7 separate regions of the Homo sapiens genome follow, and regions 1, 2, 3, 4, 6 and 7 are each linked to region 5. The links are contacts of gene promoters, found by promoter capture Hi-C in blood cells and fetal thymus (Javierre and others, 2016). All regions are on one chromosome and are shown on one strand. The core of a region is centred on a gene start or on the middle of the fragment in contact, and the rest is flanking DNA. Distances in the headings are between cores, read along the strand shown. Region 1 has its middle 35 kb from the start of C10orf67. Region 2 holds the start of C10orf67 (chromosome 10 open reading frame 67). Region 3 has its middle 19 kb from the start of OTUD1. Region 4 overlaps LOC107984215 (a long non-coding RNA gene). Region 5 holds the start of ARL5B (ARF like GTPase 5B). Region 6 has its middle 7.7 kb from the start of OTUD1. Region 7 has its middle 17 kb from the start of C10orf67.

Region 1 (2,896 bases), core at 391-2,890, 4.7 Mb after region 5:
TTGCACCAACCTAATAGTATTCCCACTTTACAGATGAGGAAACTGAAGCATGCAGGTGTGTAAGCAAATGGTGGAAATGAGATTCAAATCCAGACAGCCAGGCACCAGCGACTGAGCTCTTGGTTTTTGTAACTCTTGAAAGATGAAAAAGTGTGCAGCTGCCGTGCAAAAGTCAAGTAAATGGAATAGCACAGAGGATAGCTAGTTTGTCTCTGCACCTGGCCTAGGATAGTGCGCTCCCACATTCACAGCCCTTGGTTAGGGGGGAAAAAAGTGAGCCTGGAGAAGTTACAGGAAGGGATCATGACAAAGCATTCAAGTTATCAGAAGGGCTTTCCATTTAAAAACAGACTAACATGATTCAGACCTGTCGATTTGGAAAAACAAAAGTCACTGAGTGAATGTAATTAAATTCATTAAGACCCTTGAGTGAAAGGTACAAAACCAGCTCACCCTTGGACTTGTAACACTACAGGTGTGTCCCATGTTACTAATGAGAAGAAATGGGTGTGGGAACCATCACATCTCTTTTTCCATTTTGCACCCTGGGTGGCATCATGGAAGCATGACTTGTCAGGCGCACATGGCTCCAGGCTTACTAGGGCACCATGCTTGGTTTAATGCTCCATGGCCTTCATAATTATACCTTTCACCTTGTATTTTCTAAGTGAACTCTGCTGGGCCCATGGAACATGTGTGTGAAGCAGAGGAGATACACAAAATATGCATGTCTACCATGGGCTCCAGTTCACCCTAGCTCACATGTTGTGTTTGTGCTGCCCATGAGCACAGAATTTTGACAAATCCACCATGGACGGGAGTTGAGCAAGACTCAACGCATGTTATATCTGGGACTGAGTAAGCAGAGGTGCTGACAGCCTTGGTGGACCACACTTTCTTAGGACCAGAACTTGCTTCCAATGCAGTTCAGACAATGGCCATGGCATTGAAAGGGTTCAGAGCATGCTACCCCGAAATATGCCACTTTCACATACTGATTATTTTGAGTTACAGGCACTTGAAAAGCAGCAGATGCAAGAAAGGCATGCTGACCTTCTCTTTTTCTTCCTGAAAGCAGTAACTAAAACTCCTATGTAAAAGATGTCTTCCCTATACCAGGAGGAAGATATCACCAGAATCAGGGAGTTGAGGCCCAGAGAAATATGTTCAAATACACCTTGTTAAACTATGCCTTGTTTTCCTAGCCACTTTTCAACAATTAACTGCCCTAGCCCAGACCCCTTTGTCTTGCCACATTTCACAAATTACTCCTCTAGGTCCAACCCAGTATATAGCTTTTGTCCCTAACTTCTTCTTTGGGTCTTCATTTTTCTTGTGGGAGCTCCTGTGAAAATGTTACCACATTAAATCTGTATACTTTTCTCCTGTTAGTTGGTCTTATGTCAGTTTAATTCTTAGGACTAGCTGGGTAATAGGAAAAAGGAGAAATTGTAGCTCCCCTACAGCATTCTAAGAAATATGGATAACCAATGAATTCCATCATATCCTTTCTTGTATTATTTCCGTATATTAGCTGACACCCTCAACAATGAGGACATTAAAGGAAAGGGGAAGATGGGGCAACTCGTAGTTCCTTTTCCTTTTAGTCTTTCCTTACTAATCAGTAAACTGAAGAGAGTATTGACAGAATGTGCACATATTAAGAAGTGAAACAAAAACGTTTGAGTTAGTTTTATGCAGTTCTGGTAAGAACAAAATATATCTGCATGTAGCAGTTAAAAAAGATGAATTATATAATTTCAATGATTCTACATATAAGTTAATGTTCTCATATTTTCATTGAAAACAGGCATTACATTATGGTATGTGAATTTATGTCAATTTTAACAAAAAGAAAAATAGGTAGTACAGATGACCAAGAAACAAGGGTTGAGGGAAGGGCTTTTCTGTTACTCATTTATCAAAACAAAATTTATTGTTATTATTTTTTATTTTCATTTTTTATAAAAGGGTGGCTGCTCCATAGGCAGAGCAGAACTACCCCATAGGCAGAGTAGCCTTTTTTAATTTATTTATGTATTTATGTATTCATCTGAGACGGAGTTTCACTCTTGTTGTCCAGGCTGGAGTACAATGGCGTGATCTTGGCTCACCGCAACCTCTGCCTCCTGGGTTCAAGAGCTTCTCCTGCCTCAGCCTCCCGAGTAGCTGGGACTACAGGTGTGCGCGCCACCATGCCTGGCTAATTTTTTGTATTTTTAGTAGAGATGGGGTTTCACTGTGTTAGCCAGGACGGTCTGGATCTCCTGAGCTCGTGATCCACCTGCCTCGGCCTCCCAAAGTGCTGGGATTACAGGCGTGAGCCACCGCGCCTGGCTGCTATTTTTATTTTTTTAGATCTAATTATAAGAAATTAATGATTGCTCACTGTAGAACTTTTAGAAAACATAGGGCAGTATTAAATGAGAACTTATAAAAGTAGTAACTTACTTGGTAATTACGGACTTTAGGATTTGTTTTAGAGCTAAAAACAAAGAAGAAGAAACGATAACATGTTATAAAATGGACAAAAAGGTATCTTTAATGCCTTACGGCTCCATAAAATCAATTCAAGCGTCCCCCCTGGAAGAAAGAAGAAAGATTGACTTTGCACAAGACAAATGGTAAAATGTATACTAATAATTTTAATTAAAAAAATTTTTTTTAGGCCAGGCGCAGTGGCTCACGCCTGTAATCCCAGCACTTCCCGAGGCCGAGGCAGAAGGATCGCTTGAGAACAGGAGTTCGAGATCATCCTGGGTGATACAGCAAGACCCCGTTTCTTGCTGAAAATCGAATTTCAATTTTTCTTTACCTGGAATAGCATCAAATAGCAAATAAAACACACCAGAACAAACTGAAAGACCATGGAAGAAAGGAAAGAGCTTTATATTTT
Region 2 (2,981 bases), core at 252-2,751, 4.7 Mb after region 5:
AAGCAGGGTGGGAGCGGGTGTGGGGGACGTGGGGGAAAACTCCCTTGCCCGTTGCACCATGTGGAGACACAGCCAGGAGGTACTGTCTGTGCAGAAGGGACCCTCATCAGACCTGGAATCTGCCAGTGGGCTTCCCAGCCTCCAGAACTGGGAGAAACAAATTCCTGTTGCTTATAAGCCACCCAGCCTATGTTGTTTTGTTACAGCAGCCCGAGGGGACTAAGACGGGTACTGTGTCCTAGATTAGCTCATTTAATATTCACTATGATCTATGAAGCAGGCACTACTCTTCATCATTCATGAACGATTATTTCCCGCTGAGAAAACTGAGGCACAGAGCAGTCAGTCGCCTAACTCACGGCCCCTGTGAGAGGGTCGCCAAGATTCTGGAATCCGGGCAGTCTGGCTCCAGAGTCCGTGCTCTTAGTGTCCAGCTATACACTTGAAGAAGTGAAAACTGCAGCTCTTTTCGGACAGTGATCCCCTCGAAAAACAAACAAAAAACTGAAGCCCAGCGGCTGGAGCAAGGGGCCTGGAAAGGCGTTGAGCGAGGGCCGGGGCGCGAGGGCTCCGGGGCGGGCCGGCGGGGACTGCCTCTCCCGCTGGTCACCTGGGGTTGAACTGGAATTGTTCAATAGAGGCCTCGAGGCCCTCCATGATCTTCCGGCCCTCCTCTGTCTCAGGCGAGTCGCCCCAGTTCGCCATTGCAGCCCCGGACGTGCGCCTCCCGCGGAGCCGCTCGCTCTCCTGAGTCGGAGTCGGGAACCCGGCGTCCGTTGCCATGGCGACTCCCAGGTAACCGGCGAAGCGCGGGAATCCGTGGGCGGGGGCCGGGGAGGGCCGCGAGTGGAGGGGGGTGGGGAACGGGGTGGGGAGGGGAAGGGGGAAGGAGATGGGGAGGAGGGGGATAGGGAGAAGGTTGGGGATGGGGGGGAAGGGGAGAGGGAAAGGAAGTAGAGGAGGTGTGGAGGGAAGGAAGAGGGGGAAGGAGTGGGGGAAGGGGGAAGAGATGGAAAGGAGGATGGGGAGGGAGCACGCGCGGGAGGAGGGGAGTGGAGAGGGGGAGGAGGAGGCGGGGCGGGCTCCCAAGCCACCCCGCTGCGCTTTCACTGTCCCGCCTGCCTCAAGGCTTCCCCACAAGACTCCCACAGCCTGGAGGCTGCTGCGATACCCCAGAGGAAAGCTGCACCCCCGTAAATAACCCTTCAGCCTCCCGCCGTGCCCCTGGACCCTGCTCGCTTCCTCCTCTACCCAGGCGCGGAGCTCAGCCTACCTCGTGGACCCGCGCATTTGCGGGGGCTTGAATTCCCGAGCTTCTCGCTTCCTACGCGCGCAGCAGACCCGCAGCTCGGTGGCCTTGGCTTTCATGGCCTCCCAGCGTGTGCCAAAGGTCCCCCTCAAGGAGGAGGAAAAGCAGTGAACCCATCTAATAACTATGCTCATGACATAATGAGCCCTGCGATCCCGGACCAAGGCCATCATAAGAGGAGAGCAGGCTGCCTAATAAGCTGTCTCCACCTGCCACAAACGTAGGCGTTCCTGGACAAAATATTTCCTTGCAGAGATTAAACAGATTTCTATTTAATGAGGTCAGAATGTGAGGCGTTAAGTCTTAAACTATACCATCTAGTGTGGAATTCAATTTTACCAGGTTTCTACAATAATAAGAGTTAATAGTGAAACTGTTGTCATCCTTAGTTTTAAATTATGTATCACTCATTGTCAACTAATAGGAGACACCTATTCTAATATCAGTATGTCATTGTTTTTCTGTAAACGACTGGCTAAATTTATTTTTAAAATGTCATTGTCTGGTTTAGAACTGTCTATACTACATCTGCATTTCAATATATTATCTACAGAAAAATAAGTTTTTTCTCCTCTCTCTTATTATTATTATTATTATTTTTTGGAGCCGGAGTCTCGCTCTGTCGCCCAGGCTGGGGTGCAGTGGCGCGATCTGGGCTCACTGCAACCTCCGCCTCCCGGGTTCAAGCAATTCTCCTGCTTCAGCCTCCCGAGCAGCTGGGACTACAGGCACACAGCACCAAGCCAGGCTAATTTTTTGTATTTTTAGTAGAGACGGGGTTTCACCGCGTTGTGCAGGCTAGTCTAACTCCTGAGCTCAGGCAATCTGCCCCCCTCGGCCTCCCAAAGTGCTAGATAACAGGCGTGAGCCACAGAGCCCGGCCTCTTCTCTGTCTTGTAACAGTAAGTGAAAATAACTTAGCTGGATTTAGAAGCTCAAAACAGGAAAAGAAAAGCACTGTAGCATTATCACTACTATTATGTTTAAAGACAAAGATTAAAAGCCCCAAATGCCAATAAAACATCATAACCAATGCCAAAATCATCTTCTGTGAAGGCTTATTTTTTGGGGGGGAGATGAAGAGAGAAGAGAAAAAGAGTTACTTTTACTCTTTGGAGGTTTTTAATTACAAACTCTAACTTCAGACTTTATTTGGGGAATTTTTATTATATAATCAAAAGGTATTTTAAAAGAAAGAAATTTATATATCTACAATAACTTTTCTTTTTCCTAAGTGATATTTTACCACAATGTATATACATGTTTTAAAATAAAGATTAAAATTTTAAGTTAAAATTTCAAAACCTATCTGTTTAGAGCTGGGCCAAGACAGTGTAAAGAATGTGACAAGCTGTTGGCTATTTTCCTAGTGCAATTATAAATGAATCGTTTGAAACTGAGGAGAGAGATCGCACAGAAGATTTCATGAGTCATTGGTCAGCTCTGTACAGCATTTGTTGACTGATATAGTCTGCATAGTTACGCCATCCCACAAAAACATGCATTGAACAGAACATCTTTGTTTGAAACCTTGCTATAGCATATCAAGGAGTTTCAGATTTCAGTGTCTAAGAGACCACGCTATGATGATGATTGTTTTTGAAACCGTTAACTACATAATACTTCTCTTCTTGTCAGTTACCTGTATTTTATCTCACAGGTGTTCCGGCTT
Region 3 (3,026 bases), core at 257-2,756, 4.8 Mb after region 5:
AGGGTATGGATGTCTGTGTGTGTGTGTGTGTGTGTGTGTGTGTGTGTGTGTGCGCGCGCGCGCGCGCGCGCACAGAGAATGGCCCCATGAGATTTAGCACTGGAGTGGGAAATGGGCATTATATTTTTGAGCCTCCCCAGGTGGTTTTGATGATCAGCTAGGTTTAGGAAAGCTTGAACTAAGGAAGACCTTATGACTCTCAGTGGGTGAGCAAATTCTCTGTGAAATATAGAAAGATTAGGAGAGATAAGATGAATAAGAAGTATTAAGAGAGATAAGATGAATAAGAAGTATGATGAAAATTCATAAAATCATAAATATTATGAATAGTATGAACATAACCATAATAGGTTTTTTCATGCACGTGCATGTGAAGAGACCACCAAACAGGCTTTGTGTGAGCAACATGGCTGTTTATTTCACCTGGGTGCAGGTGGGCTGAGTCCGAAAAGAGAGTCAGCAAAGGGTGGTGGATTATCATTAGTTCTTGTAGGTTTTGGGATAGGCAGTGAAGTTAAGAGCAATGTTTTGCGGGTAGGGGTGGATCTTACAAAGTACATTCTCAAGAGTGGGGAGAATTACAAAGAACCTTCTTAAGAGTGGGGGAGATTACAAAGTACATTGATCAGTTAGGGTGGGGCAGGAACAAATCACAATGGTGGAATGTCATCAGTTAAGGCTATTTTTACTTCTTTTGTGGATCTTCAGTTACTTCAGGCCATCTGGATGTATACGTGCAAGTCACAGGGGATGTGATGGCTTGGCTTGGGCTCAGAGGCCTGACAGGTTTGTTGCCTGATACATACAGCAAGTCAATACATCAAGACACTGGGTTGCAGCAGAGAAACAGGTTTAATCATAGGGTCAGTGAACCAAGAGATGGGGAGAAACCTCAAGTCTGTCTCCCCAAGGAATTTGGGGTTAGAGTTTCTAAGGGTTTTGGAGTGGGCCAAAGTGTGGGGATCATTGATGGGTTGAAGAACACAGGGCGTCATGGAACAGGGAGATGAGGAAGTTGTATTCTCATGCTGATTCCATTCCTCTGTGTGAGTCTTCAAATTGGTTGCCGAAATTCATGGATCTGAAAAACATCTTAAGCAATCCTTAAACAAAAGCCTTATGATTCTAATGTCAGAGATCCTGTGTATAGGAACAATGGGGATACAAATCAATTCTTACAGTCTTATGACCCTAATGTCAGAGATCCTAGCTATAAAAACAACAGGGTTGCAGATGGTCAGGATCCAGTGGTACGTGACTTTTAGCAACAAGGAAGTGAGCCAGAGTGCAGTCTGATGAATGCTTAATTATAACTATATTTCCGTCCAGAACCCTGAGTGCAATTCTTGCCAACCCTGTGTGGTGGTTTCATGAACATGGATGTCTTCATCGGATGAGAAATACCAAGATGAAATAAATTTATTCAATTTGATTCTTGTGCATGTAAATAAGTCCATATTTACACATGTATATATATGCAGAGAAGATAGTGAATTCTGAGCATTGTAGAACCTTCCAGGGGAAGAGCCAATTGCCAGGTCCTAAGAGCTGCCCTTGGCCACCTCTCCAATGCTACTGAAGACAACATTATGGGGAAGGTCAGCTTCACTCTGCTTCTTAAAGATGAAGAGTGGGGAATTATTCAGAATTCTTTAGGGTGCAAATGCCAGAAACTTCATGGAAACTGGCTTTGTAAGAACAAACAAAATAAGGATTGGAAATCTATTGATCCAAGTTGCTGAGTGGGATCCTAGCATAGCTTACAGAGTGGAAGAGAAAACTACAGAAACCAAGACCTCAGGGCTTAGAATCAGGTTGATGTAGTTTGAGTATCTGTCCCCTCCAAATCTCCTGTTGAAATTTGATCCCAAAATGTTGCAGGTGAGGCCTAGTGGTGAAACCGCCTTTGCGAAACTATGACTGAGACAGTGAGCGATCTAACTTAACTGACTCCATCTTGCTTCTAACTTCCAAGCTGTCCTTGTTCATTCCTGGGCGTAGGCTGAACTAACTTTGGGAGAAAGTTAGTTTATAATTTAAACAAAGACGGTAATAGCGCTTTCCCAAAGCAGACTTCCTTCTTGCCTGGGGACTAGATTGCCTTCGTAAGATTAACATTAGACACAAAATTAGAAACTATTGTTTAGGAGTCATGCAGCTGGAGGCTACAAGATTCTGACCCTCCCTAAAGTGCTTCTAAGACCAGCCCTTGAGATATTTTGCAGACCCTGCACTTGATGGATCAGCTGGCCCCACCCAGATCAATAAACTGGCTCATCTGATCTTGTGGCCCCCACCCAGGAACTAACTGAGCACAAGAAAACAGCTCCGACTCCCTATGATTTCATCTCTGACCAGTCAGCACTCCTGGCTCACTGGCTTCCCCCCACCCACCAAGTTATCCTTAAAAACTCTGCTCCCCTAATGCTCTGGGAGACCGATTTGAGTGATAATAAACTCCGGTCTCCTGCACAGCTGGCTCTGCGTGAATTATTCTTTGTCGATTGCAATTCCCTTGTCTTGATGAATCAGCTCTGTCTAGGCAGCGGGCAAGGTGAACCCCTTGGGCGATTACAGTGGGAGGTGTCTGGGTCACAGGGGCAGATCCCTCATAAATGGCTTGGTGTCAATCTCATGCAAGTGAGTTCTCACTCTGTTAGTTCCCATGAGATCTGATTGTTTTTTCTTTTGTCTTTTTAAATTTTTTATTGTTTTGCACACTGAAATATGTACATCTAAGAGATCTGATTGTTGAAAAGAGCCTGGCACCTCCCTCCCCTCTATTGCTTCCTCTCTGCCATGTGACACCCCTGCCACCCCCTCACCTTCTGCCATGAGTGGAAGCTTCCTGGGTCCTTGACAGAAGCAGGTGCTGTTGGTGTGCTTTCTGTACAGCCTGCAGATCCATGAGACAAACCTCTTTTCTTTATACATTACCAGCTTCAGGTATTCCTTTATAGCAAAGCAAAACAGGCTAAGACACAGGTCTTCCATGTTCCAAGTCCATCTCTTCGCTGGGTTACCTC
Region 4 (3,043 bases), core at 477-2,976, 4.4 Mb after region 5:
TAGTACATGTTGTCAGATTTCTTTCCAGAAAAAGTATGACCCTATTTCTACAGACAGTGTATGAGTTCTTAAAGCTCTGGTAGCTTTAATTCCAAAAAAACACTATTATTAATAATTTAATATGCATGAGGCAATATATTAGGCCATTTTAATTTTTAATTCTTTAATTATTATGGAAGCCAAACATTTTCCCAAGTGTTTGTTCACTATTTGTATTTTTCCTTGTGCAAACCATCTGTTCATATTCTTTAACCATCTGTCCAGTCAGACCTGAAATTGGCCATATAGATAATATTAATTTCCCTAATATATATAATGTTAAATGTTTACTGTTATGTGTATTACAATACTCTCGTATTTTTATCATTTTAATTTTTCTAATTTGAGAGTAATCATTTTTTGTTCTTCATCTTGTGGTATGTATGTATGTACTTAAATTTCATTCACTTGAACCTGTCAACCTTATCATTTGTTCAGTGCTAACTCCTTTTATTGCTTTTATTGTCCAAAAATTATTTTTATTTCAAAATGGATGTATGCAGTATTGTTTTATTTCGTGTGTGTGTGTGTGTGTGTGTTTGTGTATGTGTGGTAGGGAAGTTTAAACTTTCCCTCTGAAGTGAGACTGCTGAAATAAACTGACAATAGAGTAGCAGAAGAAAAAGCATACAAATGTATTAAAGTGCACATGGTCACAAGACCCCCACAAATATGAGACTCAAAGAAAGGCCAAATTGTTGAAACTTATATATCTTCTTCATAGGGAAGAGGGCGATGGCGGAAACTTAGGCAATTTTGAGGGATTGTAAATAATTTTCAGGAAAATTGAATAGGCCCAAAGAGCAGACAGTAGTTTTTGAATTATTCTTTTCGGAAGAAGAATGGGACCCACAGTTATGGGAAGGTGAGGGGCAGAACTGTACTGTGAACAAAGGTTGTCCTATTATGCATTTAATTTTTATTTAAATAGTAAATATTTAAATAATCTTAAATAAATCTTAAATAATAAAGTAATCTCTCAGAGGTGCCATCAGAAGAACAGATAAAAAGTGTTTCAGGGCATAGTGATGACTTTTAGTCTTTCCTCTTCTCCAGTAGTTAATCTTTCCTGGTTATCTGATAAGATTCCTAGTAAAGAGATCTTAAGACAACTGCACTTCTTTTGGAAGACTCAGTGGGAGAAAGCCCTTCTCTTCACTTGTGGGGAAGAAATAAAAAGTTAGAAAGTCGTTGTTTCTGAGGCAGCTTCTAAAGCTTTCCAATTTCATTTAATTCAAAAATGCTCAGCATACCAGAGCACCATACTTGGGGGGTATTGTACTCTGAGCTCTGACATGATACACATATCCACATACTACTTTTAACTCAAAAAATAATTCTTTTGAAGTGAATTATTCATCTAAGCCTTAGACGCCAAGGTTACTTCCCCTGTATTGATAGTCACTTTCCCACAAAAAATATACTGAATAATTTTATATCCCCTTGTTTCTAATAGGTTAAATATGTATTAATTTCTGGAACCTCTTATCTCTCTGGACTATTTTTTGGTTATTATTTCAATCAGAACACTGTTTTCATATCTACTCTTCCTTGATAAGCACTTTTAACATGTGAGAGGCTACTTCTCCAATATTATCTTTAACATAAAAGTCTATTTTTATCCACATTTATTTCAGTTGTTATTTTTTCAATTCCTGTAAAGTAATCCATTGGGATTATAAGTGACATAGCTTAAATCTATAAGTTGAATGTATTTTAACCTTCGTAATTTCAGCTCTTTGGTCAGCAAGTGTATCTTTCCATTTTTCACCACCCGTCATATAATTACAGACTGAAGAGAGTTGAGATATAATTTGAGTTCTAGTTCTAGGCCACCCTCCCCTGTATTCGTGTCATTTTCCAGATAATCAAACCAAGGCCCAGAGACTGGTTTGTCCAAAACATCTGTATCTGCTTAGGAGAACACCTAGAAATTGAACCCAGAGCTTATCCCATGCTATTTTTTTCTATCGAACCATTTATTTAAGTCTTCATTCACTGCCTTTAGAGCTTTAAAACTATATTTTATATATATTAGATGTTCCAGTTGGTTAGTTTCTAGGAATTCTCTAGATTGAGGTAAAACAAAAATGAGTATCGACATTGAACTTTGGGCAGATGGAAGCAGATAAAGTATTTTCAGTGCAGATTAATTGTGTAAAGCTTATTCCAGTCCCTCATTCTTTCCCAAATGGTTTTTGGTAGGGAAAAGCAAATTGGCTTTTGCACTTATCTCCCATTTTTTGGTCATTCTATCCTATCTTTTAGGGATTTTATTATCAAATTTATAGTTTGCAGAGAAGTGTGTTGGATATACAAAGAGTCAAAGTTATAGAATTTTGCCTTTCCTGAAGATTCTCACAATCAAATTCAGGACATCAGATATACACTGTGTCAACTTCATGAAACAGAAAATCCCAGTAACAGTGATTTAAACAAAATATAGATTTATTGGTCTCTCATGTAATTGGAAATCTGAAGGCAGGCAATCCAAGACTAGCATATTGACTCCACACTGTCTTCAGAATCCTGGGCTCCTTCATGTCTTCTACTTCTTTAAAATCAAGATGTGGGTCTCATCTTCATGTATACCAGAAGATTGCCAGTGCTCCAGCCATCATGACTAATTTCCAAGCAGAAACAAAAGACAGAGCAAAAGTCCAGTGCTGAGCCAGCTCCTCTTTAACTAGTTTTCCTGGTAGCTCCCAGTGATGTCTGCTCCTATCATTGCCCATAACAGCATCATATGATTGCCACCAACTACAAGGGAGCTGACAGATGTAACATTTTAGCTAGGCATATTGCTACTCTTAATAAAATCAAAGATCTGTTTGTAAGTAGAGAGAGTGGATATCGGCCAGGCAAATGATAGTCTCTACCACTCAGTGTACAAAGTAAAAGGGAAAACATAAAGTAGAGTTTTGTTCAGGCTAAGACCATGTGTCCAAGAATGTGAGGTTAATGCATGGCCTTGATGGTTAAGTTGGATTCAGATAAATGGTGG
Region 5 (2,822 bases), core at 54-2,553:
TCACATTTATGGTCCAACTGATAGTCATGAAAGTTAAGTTTGCATAGGGTCAGTACATTCTTTTTCCTCTACATAGGAGGTTGAAACTTGCCTTTAATGTTGTAACGTTGGAGCATATTATCCTGCATCTAAGTCTTAAAGGGTCTTTAAACCATAGCACTGGGAGGACGTAAGTCATACATTCTCCTTGTACAGGTTAACTCAAGAGTTTGGCATGTTAAAAGGCCACGTTGCCAAGGTTAAAATCCAACCATCTGACTGAAGTCAGAGTCTAAAAAAATTTTAAGCTTGCTCCTCCGTCAACTGGTTTCAAGGACATTCAGTTTCGTTTCATGCCAGGCTGTGAAGCTTTTCTTTTCAATGCTAGAACCTAACCATGGAAAGTGGAATTGAAAACAATTACACAGCGAATTGGCTTATGCGTGGACTTCGATCTGGGATCCACGAACATACCTAATGCTTGGCAAAATGGAGAGGGGTGCTATGTGTTATTATTATGTGTTATTATTAATCACATAACTGAACTCTGTGGCTCCAGGCCTTCCATGGCTCGTCTCCCAATCAATTCTTTTCAGAACTAAGAATCACGACAGGGGCCGGGCGCGGTGGCTGAGCCTGCAATCCCACCACTTTGGGAAGTCGAGGCAGGAAGATCGCTTGAGCCCAGGAAATTGAGTCCCCCTGGGCAACACAGCCCGACCTCGTCTGCAATCGATCAATCAATCAATGAGTACATAAATGCATAAGCCAATGAATGAATACGTGAATGAATAGATTAATAAATGAATGAAGAAGAATCACGGCAGAACTCCTAACCCCTAGCACGCCTGCCTAGGGGAACAGGAATAAGTCAGGAAAGAAACACTCTTCACTTCTGTGAGTTTTCTAAGAGCAGCAAACGGCGGCTGCTCACTTAGAGAACCTATGGTCTTTCCTGGTTTTAGAGGTCAGGGAAGCAGCTGCTAGCAGCAGAGACTCAAATCAAAGGGGAGTCCCACAAACGTTTTGAAGGCTGACATCAGAAGGAGCACGCACCAAGGGAAATTTCCCACCCCCCCGCGATACCGCAAATTCCCAGCCGCTGGCCGTTTGGGACTCTCCTACCGGAAGTGAAACCGAAGAAAACGCCACGTCGAAGGCGTGGGTTGCCGTAAGTGCGCCGTCGTCACGCGCCTAGCTTCCGGCGATGGGTGGTCCTGGGATCCGGAGGGGAGGCGGGGTGGAGGCGGGGCTTGGGGCTGTGGAGAGGCTGTGGTAGGTAGGTGGGTACAGACCGAGGGGACTACGGGTCGGCGTTGGGCTCAGTGGGCTCGAAACAAAGGGCTGTCCGGTGGGGATTCGTCGCGGCGCCTTCTGAGTGGTCGGGTCGAGGCTTCTCGGCCTAGCAGTGCCCTCGCTGCGCGATCTCAGGCGGGTTCTCCTCGGCTCCGCGCAGCCCGCGCCGCGGTGGGGGACCCGGCGCAGCGGCACCTGCTGCCGAGGGACCCCGCGGCCCGCCCCGGTGCTCGTGATGGGGCTGATCTTCGCCAAACTGTGGAGCCTCTTCTGTAACCAAGGTGAGAAGAATGGAGCTGCGCGGCGGCTCGAATCCGAGGCAGAGGGTCCCGCCGCCGATGGGGACACCGGAGACAGGGGACAGAGCGTTCGGAGACGCGGAGGAGGAAGGGACTTAGGCCAGGGGGCGGGCAGAAACTCAGTGTTTTAGACCTGGAGGACGTACAGGAGAGACCTGACGTGTGGGAGAAATAGGGAGGCAGAAGAGAAGGTATTTGGCGTCCCAGAATCCAAACTGAGAATGTTTGGATATTGGCGAAGTAAAGCGGGATACAGCTAATGATGCCAGGAGGCGTATGGAGGGCCTTTCTCGTCTTTATTGAAGCGTGCTTGTGTCTATGTGTATCCCCAGGATAAGTGTCCGCCCAGAAACCTAGAACTTTTTTTTTTTTGAGTAATGTAGGTGCTTTGTTTTCCCGCCCTGCAGTTTGAGCCGTAAGCCAGTGCACTTTCACTCTGATTTCGCCTCCTTTCCTCTAGGACTTGGGAATGAGTTGTCCTATTCAGATGCACGAGTTTTCCAGCATCTTCATTGTAAACTTTTTTTTTTAAAGCATTTAGTTCAGAAACTAAATGCTTTTCGGTTTTGTGTAAGACGTTACGTGTCCGTAATTAGTCTGTAACAGGTAATGAGACACCTGGAAGTGGCAGGTCCAAAGGGCCGAGAAGTTGCAAAACCTGTTCTGAATCAGAATGAGATGTGATGTCTTCTGAAGAGAGAAAACACCCAGACCAAAAAAGGGGCCGACGATAAGTTAAAGTTTGAGGCGTCCTTTGAACAGAATGGTTTCTTAGTAATTGAAACCAGTTTTGAAAATCAACTCGTTTCATTTTACATTTAAGAGCCGGGCATCGTTAATAAGCCAGTTTTATTTCCTTTTATGTTGGTACCAATTTGTTACTGCTAATGTAGGTATCTAATCTTTTTCTGGATTTAAGAAGTTGTGGAGGTAATGGAATGGCTTTAGTTGACTTGTTCTGTAGATTGATAAGAACACTAAAGCAGTCTTTTTCAAGGTTATAAATATAGATACAGGCACACACATGTGTATATATATGTATATGCCTGTATCCAGTAACCACAGATAATATTACTTATCAAATGATTTCAAAGTGAGCAGAGCTTCACACTTTGTGGGTATTATCCATACATTTAAAATATTATTTTTATTTATTTATTTTTTGAGGCAGAGTCTTTCTCTGTCGCCCAGGCTTCAGTGCAGTGGCGCAATCTCAGCTCACTGCAACCTCTGCATCCTGGGTTCAAG
Region 6 (3,010 bases), core at 387-2,886, 4.8 Mb after region 5:
TACCGTCTGGCTCTATCTGCCAGGCTGGAGTGCGGTGGTGTGATCCTAGCTCAGTGCAGCCTCCACCTTCTGGGCTCCAGCTATTCTTCAGCTTCAGCCTCCTGAGTAGCTGGGACTACAGGTGTGCCACACCATGCCTGGCTAATTTTTTAATTTTTTTGTAGAGACATGGTCTCGCTCTGTTGACCAGGCTGATCTCAAACTCCTGGTCTCAAGTGATCCTCTGCCTTTGCCTCCTGAAGTGCTGGAATTACAGATGTAAGCCACTGCGCCCAGTCCTGGGTGAGTTTTTTTGTTTGTTTTTGAGACAGAGTCTTGTTCTGTTGCCCAGGCTGGAGTGCAGTGGCAGGAACATGGCTCACTGAAGTCTTGACTTCCTGGGCTCAGGGGATCCTCCCACCTCAGCCTCCTGAGTAGCTGGAACAAGAGGCTCATGCCACCACATCCGGCTAATTTTTAAGGTTTTTTTTGTAGAGACAGGGACTTGCCACATTGCCCAGGCTGGCCTCAAACTCCTGGACTGAAGCAATCCTCCCATCTCTGCCTCCCAAAGTGCTGTCATTATAGGCATAAACCACCACACCAAGACCCTGGGAGGACTATTTTTAAAAAATTGTTTCTCTCTCTCTTCTGCTTATTTATAGCTTTCGACTTTTTTGTGATGACCATGTATTATTTTCATAATAATAAATCCCATAAAAACTATTTACATTTAAAACAATGTGTTGGCTTCATAGTAGTTACATTTATAATTTCAACCATCAAGAAGATTCTTAAGGAAAAAAATACGTTCCTGTGAAAGGGAAACAATTATTTTTTCTCTGCAATTTCTACTCAACACAGAACACTTCTGTGACCAGGTGTAGGGGTTTTTCTCTACACACCAAGCAGTTCTGTGGTGGACACCAACTAGGTGTCCTATAATTCAGTTTAATTCTGACACTATCTACCTGGAGTTAGAGTCAGATCCCAGAGGTTGAGGGCTCTGTCCCACAAGACTGACCTCACTTCAGACATCAATTGCAAGTAGTAGGTTGTTACCTATACCTCTGACCGACTGGTTGCAATCTGGGGGTCCCATGATCCCCTACTTTGGTTTGATTAATTTGCTAGGATGGTTCACAGGACTCAGAGAAATAATTGCATTTATTAGTGTATTATTATTAATGAAGAGTATTACAAAGAATAGAGATGAAAAGATACAGAGGCTGAAGTATGGAGGAGAGAGAATAGAGCTTTCATTGTCCAAGAGTTTTTATGAAGTTTAATCTCCAGTGTCCCCCACAACCCCTTTCCTGGAAGTTGGTGGGTGGGGCTGAAACTTTCGACCCTCTAATCCTCTAATCACTTGCTCTTTCTGTTGATCAGCCCCATCCTGGGGCTAATCAGGGGTCCCACCCTAAGTCACCTCATTAGCAGAAACTCTGCCTGTAATCCCAGCATTTTGAGAGACTGAGGTATGAGGATCGGTCAAGCTCTGGAGTTCAAAACCAGCCTGGGCAACATAGAGAGACCTCCTCTCCACTAAAAATAAAAAAAATTAGCCAGGCATGGTGGCACACACCTGTAGTCTCAGCTACTCTGGAGGCTGAAGTGGGAGGATCAGTTGACCCTAGGAGGTTGAGGCTACAGTGATACATGATTGCACCACTGCACTACAGCCTGAGTGACAGAGCAAGACCCTGTCTCGAAATAAATAAATAATAAATTAAATACAAAAACAAAAAAAGAATAAGGTGGAGCTACATATTGTGACATGAAACGTGTCCAGTATATACTAATTAAGTAAAGAAAAAAGTATAGTGCAGAGAAAATATGTACCATATAATCCTGTAATGCCAAATTTTTGCTCACATGTGTATGATATATATAATCTATATATGCGTATTAAAAAGTCTGAAAATATATACAATAAATGTAAACAGTAGTTACCACTGGAGTGGGAGATGAGGGAGATGGGATGGGATGTAAAGGAATTTTACTTCTATTTTTACACATGTGCATTGCTTTAATTTTTTAACACACTTTTTTAAATTAAATAAAAAGCAATATTAAAGTAACTTAATATCTATCCTCTTTTCTCTTCTTTTTCTTTCCTTTTCTTTTTGGCCACCCAGGCTGGAGTGCAGTGGCATGATCATAGTTCACTGCAGCCTCAACCTCCTGGGCTCAAGCAATCCTCCAGCCTCAGCCTCCTGAGTAGCTGGGACTACAGGCACTTATCACCATGTCCGGCTAATTTTTATACTGTTTGTATAGATGGGATTTTGCCATGTTGCCCAGGCTGGTCTTGAATTCCTGGTCTCAAGCAATCCTCCCCTCTCATCCTCCCCAAATGCTGGAATTACAGGCATGAGCCACTGTGCCTGGTCCTCTTTTCTCATTTCCTTAAGTCTTGGTAAAATAGTTTTATAATATCTGGGCATTTTTACAATTGAGCTCTTAGTCATGAAGGGTGTGTTTCTCAGTCTGGCCTTCTACCCATATAGAAGGAGGGTGGGGTGTGGCTGTTGCCTGCTCCCCACAGAAACACCCTTATGGTCTCTAGGAGGGGTAAGTCATATTGTTATCACGTTCACTTATTTACAGACATTTAGCTACTAGGTAAACATTACAAAGATTGTGGATTTTTAAAATGTTGCCACACAAACAGCCAACTGAGTTATGTTAGAATCATCCTTGGTAACAGATTTCTGCATTTACTGCAGTTATTCAACGTTTGGGTGTGTGCGGGTGTCTTGTTTTTCCTACTTTATGTTAAGCTATTTACAAACAAGGGACATATGATTATACTTCTATTTAAACCTGTGCAGGCCTAGTTACTGTTAGCAGACCTGTCCATAGTATCGGTTAAGGCAACTAGAAGCAGGCAACAGAGCACAGAACAAGATGGTTCTAGTCTACTGTTCTCCTTTTCTAATAGAAATTAACTGAATTCCGGCAACACTTGAGGTTTTGGGGCTCCTCTCTTTCACCATATGCTGGAATGAGTCAAGGCTGTGTATGGGAA
Region 7 (3,023 bases), core at 79-2,578, 4.7 Mb after region 5:
GGACTCTTTTTTGGAAATAACTTTGAAAATCCTCTTTGCTCCTGCTACAACCCAGAGCTCAGGTCTGGCCCTGGCACGTCTCAGCTCTATGAGCTATACAAGTTGACTACCTGCCCTTAGAATGCAGTATATGCAAAAAACACTTTGTAAACTCCAAAGTGCTATGTAGGTGTGAGTTACTGTTATCATCGATGCAAATGTGCTGGCCTTAAGTCCCACCCATTCCCTGTGGGGGGTGATCCCCAGGGTCAAGTGTCTGGAGGTCCTGGTAAAATTAGAATTCAGTCTAAGTTTTTCTTCCTATATTTTCTGCTTAATAACTTGGTTCTACTCTAGGACTCAGCACCTCTCTGAGCCCCCTATTACTGGGGATCTTCCAAACATGAACAACTGTCCCCATGCTAACCACCACCATTCAGGCTCAGCCATTTGCTCTCCTCTCTTGCCTTTTCTTTCTTCCAATCATTCTTTTTAAAAATTATTTTTATGATTTTTTATTTTTGTGGAGATGGGGTCTTGCTTTGTTGCCCCACTGTTGAACTCCTGGGTTCAAGTGATCCTCCTGCCTCAGCCTCCCAAGGTGCTGGAATTACGGTCGCGGATCCACCACACCTGGCCTCTTCCAGTGATTCTTACTTCAACATGCTACACATCACTTCCAGACTGGCCCACCCTTTTTCCCATGAGTCTTTCTAATGTATAGCCTTTCATCCGGTACACAGGATGAAGCCCAATCCCCTTGAGCTAGTGTCTAAAGTCCTCCTAGGACAATCCCTTACTAACTCCTTGTGGAGAAGAGTTTAATGCACCAGTTCTGAGACTGCTACCCTTAGAAAGGCTTGCTTGCAAGGTTGGCCCTTGGCTGGCACCAGGAAACCTGGATTTGGGAAGGGCTCCTGCCGTTCCCTATCTGAGAAGTGGTGCTCAATATGCTTAAACTGTGCAATCAGTGTGGTTCCTGCTGAACACCTGCTTTCCCTCCTGGAGTCTGGAATTTCTGTACTGCTAGAAAGTGGGTCCCTAGGTGACAAGCTCTCAATAAAAATCTTGAACATTGAGTCACTAATGAGACTGGTACTGGTAGACAACACTTCATAGGTGTTGTCATAATTTGCTGCTGTAGGAATTAACTACATCCTGGTAACTTCCAAGAGGACTCTTGGAAGCTTGTGTCTGGTTTCCTCCTGACTTTGCCCCATGCATTTTGCTGATTTTGTTTTGCATGCTTTTGCTGGAATGGATCACAGCTGTGAGTATGACTGTTTTCTGAGTCTTGTGAATCCTTCTAGAAAGTCATCAATTCTAGAGATGGTCTTGGGGGCCCCTGACACATCTCTTGGTTTTTTCTTTTTGTGTTCCTCTCCACAGACTCTGCCCTCCTACTAATCTGGTTCATTCCAAAACTCCTTGCGCATGCCTGGCCCTGTAGCTCACACAACCTCCCTGCCTAAAGTGACCCAGCTCTCTCAGACCCAAAGGCTCCCTTCTTTCAAAGCTTTTATCGAGTCCTACCTCCTCCACTGCTATGGTTTGAAAGTTTGTCCCCTCCAAAAGTCATGTTAAAACGTAAATCCCATTATTGAGAGGTGGGGCCTTTTAGAGATGATTGGGTCATAAAGGCTCTGGTCATAAAAATGGATTAATAGATTAGAGGGTTCATGAATTAATAGGTTATCAGAGGAGAGGCACTAGTGGCTTTATAAGAAGAAGAAGGGGGAATTGAGCAAGCACGCTCAGCCTCCTCATCATTTGATGTCCTGCATCTCCCTGGGGCTCTGCAGGAAGTCCCCCTGCCACAAGCATGAAGGTCCTCACCAGATGCAGTCCCTCAACCTTGAACTTCCCAGTCTTCACAACTGTAAGAAATAAATTAATAAATTCCTTTTCTTTATAAATTACCCAGTTTCAAGTATTCCGTTATAAGCAACAGACAAGGGACTAAGACATCCACATCTTTCAGAATGGGCCAGCCTTGGGGGAGGCTTCCTCCTCTGAACATCTTTTTATACTCTGTTCCATTCAGTTGGCATTTTATGTGCACTGTTCATCTGCCTTCCTAGTTCAACTGTTAAGTCCTCCAGAGAGGAGAACAATATTTTTCTTCTTTAATTTCCCTGTGTAGTGTCCCCTGTTCATAGTAATTGCCCTGGGGACATATAAAGGCCCTAAATGGGTTTCAGCTCTGTCTGACCAGTTCTGTTTTCACTAATTCAAGTATCTCACTCTCTGACCATGCTTTCTCAACCTCTAGTTTGTGGTTCATCTTCTCCTGCCCACTCCAGGGTCCCTGCCTTTTGATCCGCCAGATCCTCCAGTAAGGAGCAGGATAACTCCTCTGCTCCCTCCCAGGCCCTCTACCATATCCTTTCTTCACTTCCTCCATCATCAGCTTACATCATTTCAATATTAGCTGCCAATTTGGTAGCTCACTTGACTCTCCTCATGGTGTATGCAGCTGGCTAAACTATAACTTGCTTTCTCTGTTTACACCTGGGCATCTTGGTACAGCAAGGGAAGTCAAACCACAAGACCTATTGATTTTACCATAAATTGTGATCTCCAACCTCAGATGGCCCTAGTACCAGGCAAGGTCCCATCAGGAAACAGATGACACACTTAGAAAGGGTAACTGAGGAAGGCTTAAGAAAGGGAAGGCTGGGCATTGTGACTCATGCCTGTAATCCCAGGACTTTGAGAGGCTGAAGTGGGAAGGATCATTTGAGGCCAGGAGTTTGAGAACAGCCTGGGCAACATAGTGAGACCCAGTCTCTATTAAAAAAAAAAAAGAAAAAAGAAAGAAGAAAAGGAAGATTTACAAAGGTGTGGGTGGGGATAAGGAGACCCAGCAAGCTTCCACCTTTCATCCTGCAGGGGGAAGGGGGGACATTACCAGAACTTAGCAGCCTAGCAGGTAGCTGGGGCTACGGTCTTCAGTTCAGTAAAGGAATGCAGCAACTGACAAACAGGAAACTATTACCCCAACCTGTCTCTCTGCTCAGCCCAACTATTCTGCAGGCACCTCC

What was found. The method cuts DNA at HindIII sites, captures the fragments that hold promoters and counts their contacts. A CHiCAGO score of 5 or more calls a contact.
Region 1: a fragment that was not itself captured here is called in contact with the fragment with the promoter of ARL5B in region 5 in 1 of 17 cell types (naive CD8 T cells); the score reaches 6.7 in naive CD8 T cells.
Region 2: a contact is called between the fragment with the promoter of C10orf67 here and the fragment with the promoter of ARL5B in region 5, in 1 of 17 cell types (naive CD8 T cells). The highest score is 6.2, in naive CD8 T cells.
Region 3: a fragment that was not itself captured here is called in contact with the fragment with the promoter of ARL5B in region 5 in 1 of 17 cell types (total B cells); the score reaches 15.5 in total B cells.
Region 4: a contact is called between a fragment that was not itself captured here and the fragment with the promoter of ARL5B in region 5, in 2 of 17 cell types (activated CD4 T cells and total CD4 T cells). The highest score is 9.5, in activated CD4 T cells.
Region 6: a fragment that was not itself captured here is called in contact with the fragment with the promoter of ARL5B in region 5 in 2 of 17 cell types (monocytes and total CD4 T cells); the score reaches 8.9 in monocytes.
Region 7: a fragment that was not itself captured here is called in contact with the fragment with the promoter of ARL5B in region 5 in 1 of 17 cell types (total CD4 T cells); the score reaches 8.4 in total CD4 T cells.

What each region holds. Positions count from the first base shown.
Region 1 is chr10:23,378,317-23,381,212 of GRCh38, forward strand. No RefSeq gene overlaps it. Among named protein-coding and RNA genes, the nearest start is that of C10orf67, 35 kb to the left of the region's middle. The HindIII fragment of the contact is 6,053 bases long and covers 1-2,896 here.
Region 2 is chr10:23,343,296-23,346,276 of GRCh38, forward strand. C10orf67 (chromosome 10 open reading frame 67) reads right to left here and starts at 1,502. Exons shown (of 16, transcript NM_001371909.1): 1 at 1,274-1,502. The coding sequence starts at 1,479. It overlaps C10orf67-AS1 (C10orf67 antisense RNA 1), which reads left to right and starts at 662. Exons shown (of 2, transcript NR_155752.1): 1 at 662-795; 2 at 1,129-1,866. RefSeq lists a silencer at 2,625-2,919. The HindIII fragment of the contact is 9,174 bases long and covers 1-2,981 here.
Region 3 is chr10:23,456,953-23,459,978 of GRCh38, forward strand. No RefSeq gene overlaps it. Among named protein-coding and RNA genes, the nearest start is that of OTUD1, 19 kb to the left of the region's middle. The HindIII fragment of the contact is 2,672 bases long and covers 171-2,842 here.
Region 4 is chr10:23,088,954-23,091,996 of GRCh38, forward strand. All of the region lies in intron 1 of LOC107984215 (a long non-coding RNA gene), which reads right to left. Among named protein-coding and RNA genes, the nearest start is that of MSRB2, 5.1 kb to the right of the region's middle. The HindIII fragment of the contact is 948 bases long and covers 1,253-2,200 here.
Region 5 is chr10:18,658,128-18,660,949 of GRCh38, forward strand. It overlaps ARL5B (ARF like GTPase 5B), which reads left to right and starts at 1,304. Exons shown (of 6, transcript NM_178815.5): 1 at 1,304-1,556. The coding sequence starts at 1,511. It also overlaps a transcript of NSUN6 not described here. RefSeq lists enhancers at 133-252, 953-1,082 and a silencer at 1,393-1,472. The HindIII fragment of the contact is 6,724 bases long and covers 347-2,822 here.
Region 6 is chr10:23,429,863-23,432,872 of GRCh38, forward strand. No RefSeq gene overlaps it. Among named protein-coding and RNA genes, the nearest start is that of OTUD1, 7.7 kb to the right of the region's middle. RefSeq lists an enhancer at 2,295-3,010. The HindIII fragment of the contact is 5,764 bases long and covers 1-3,010 here.
Region 7 is chr10:23,360,090-23,363,112 of GRCh38, forward strand. No RefSeq gene overlaps it. Among named protein-coding and RNA genes, the nearest start is that of C10orf67, 17 kb to the left of the region's middle. The HindIII fragment of the contact is 329 bases long and covers 1,165-1,493 here.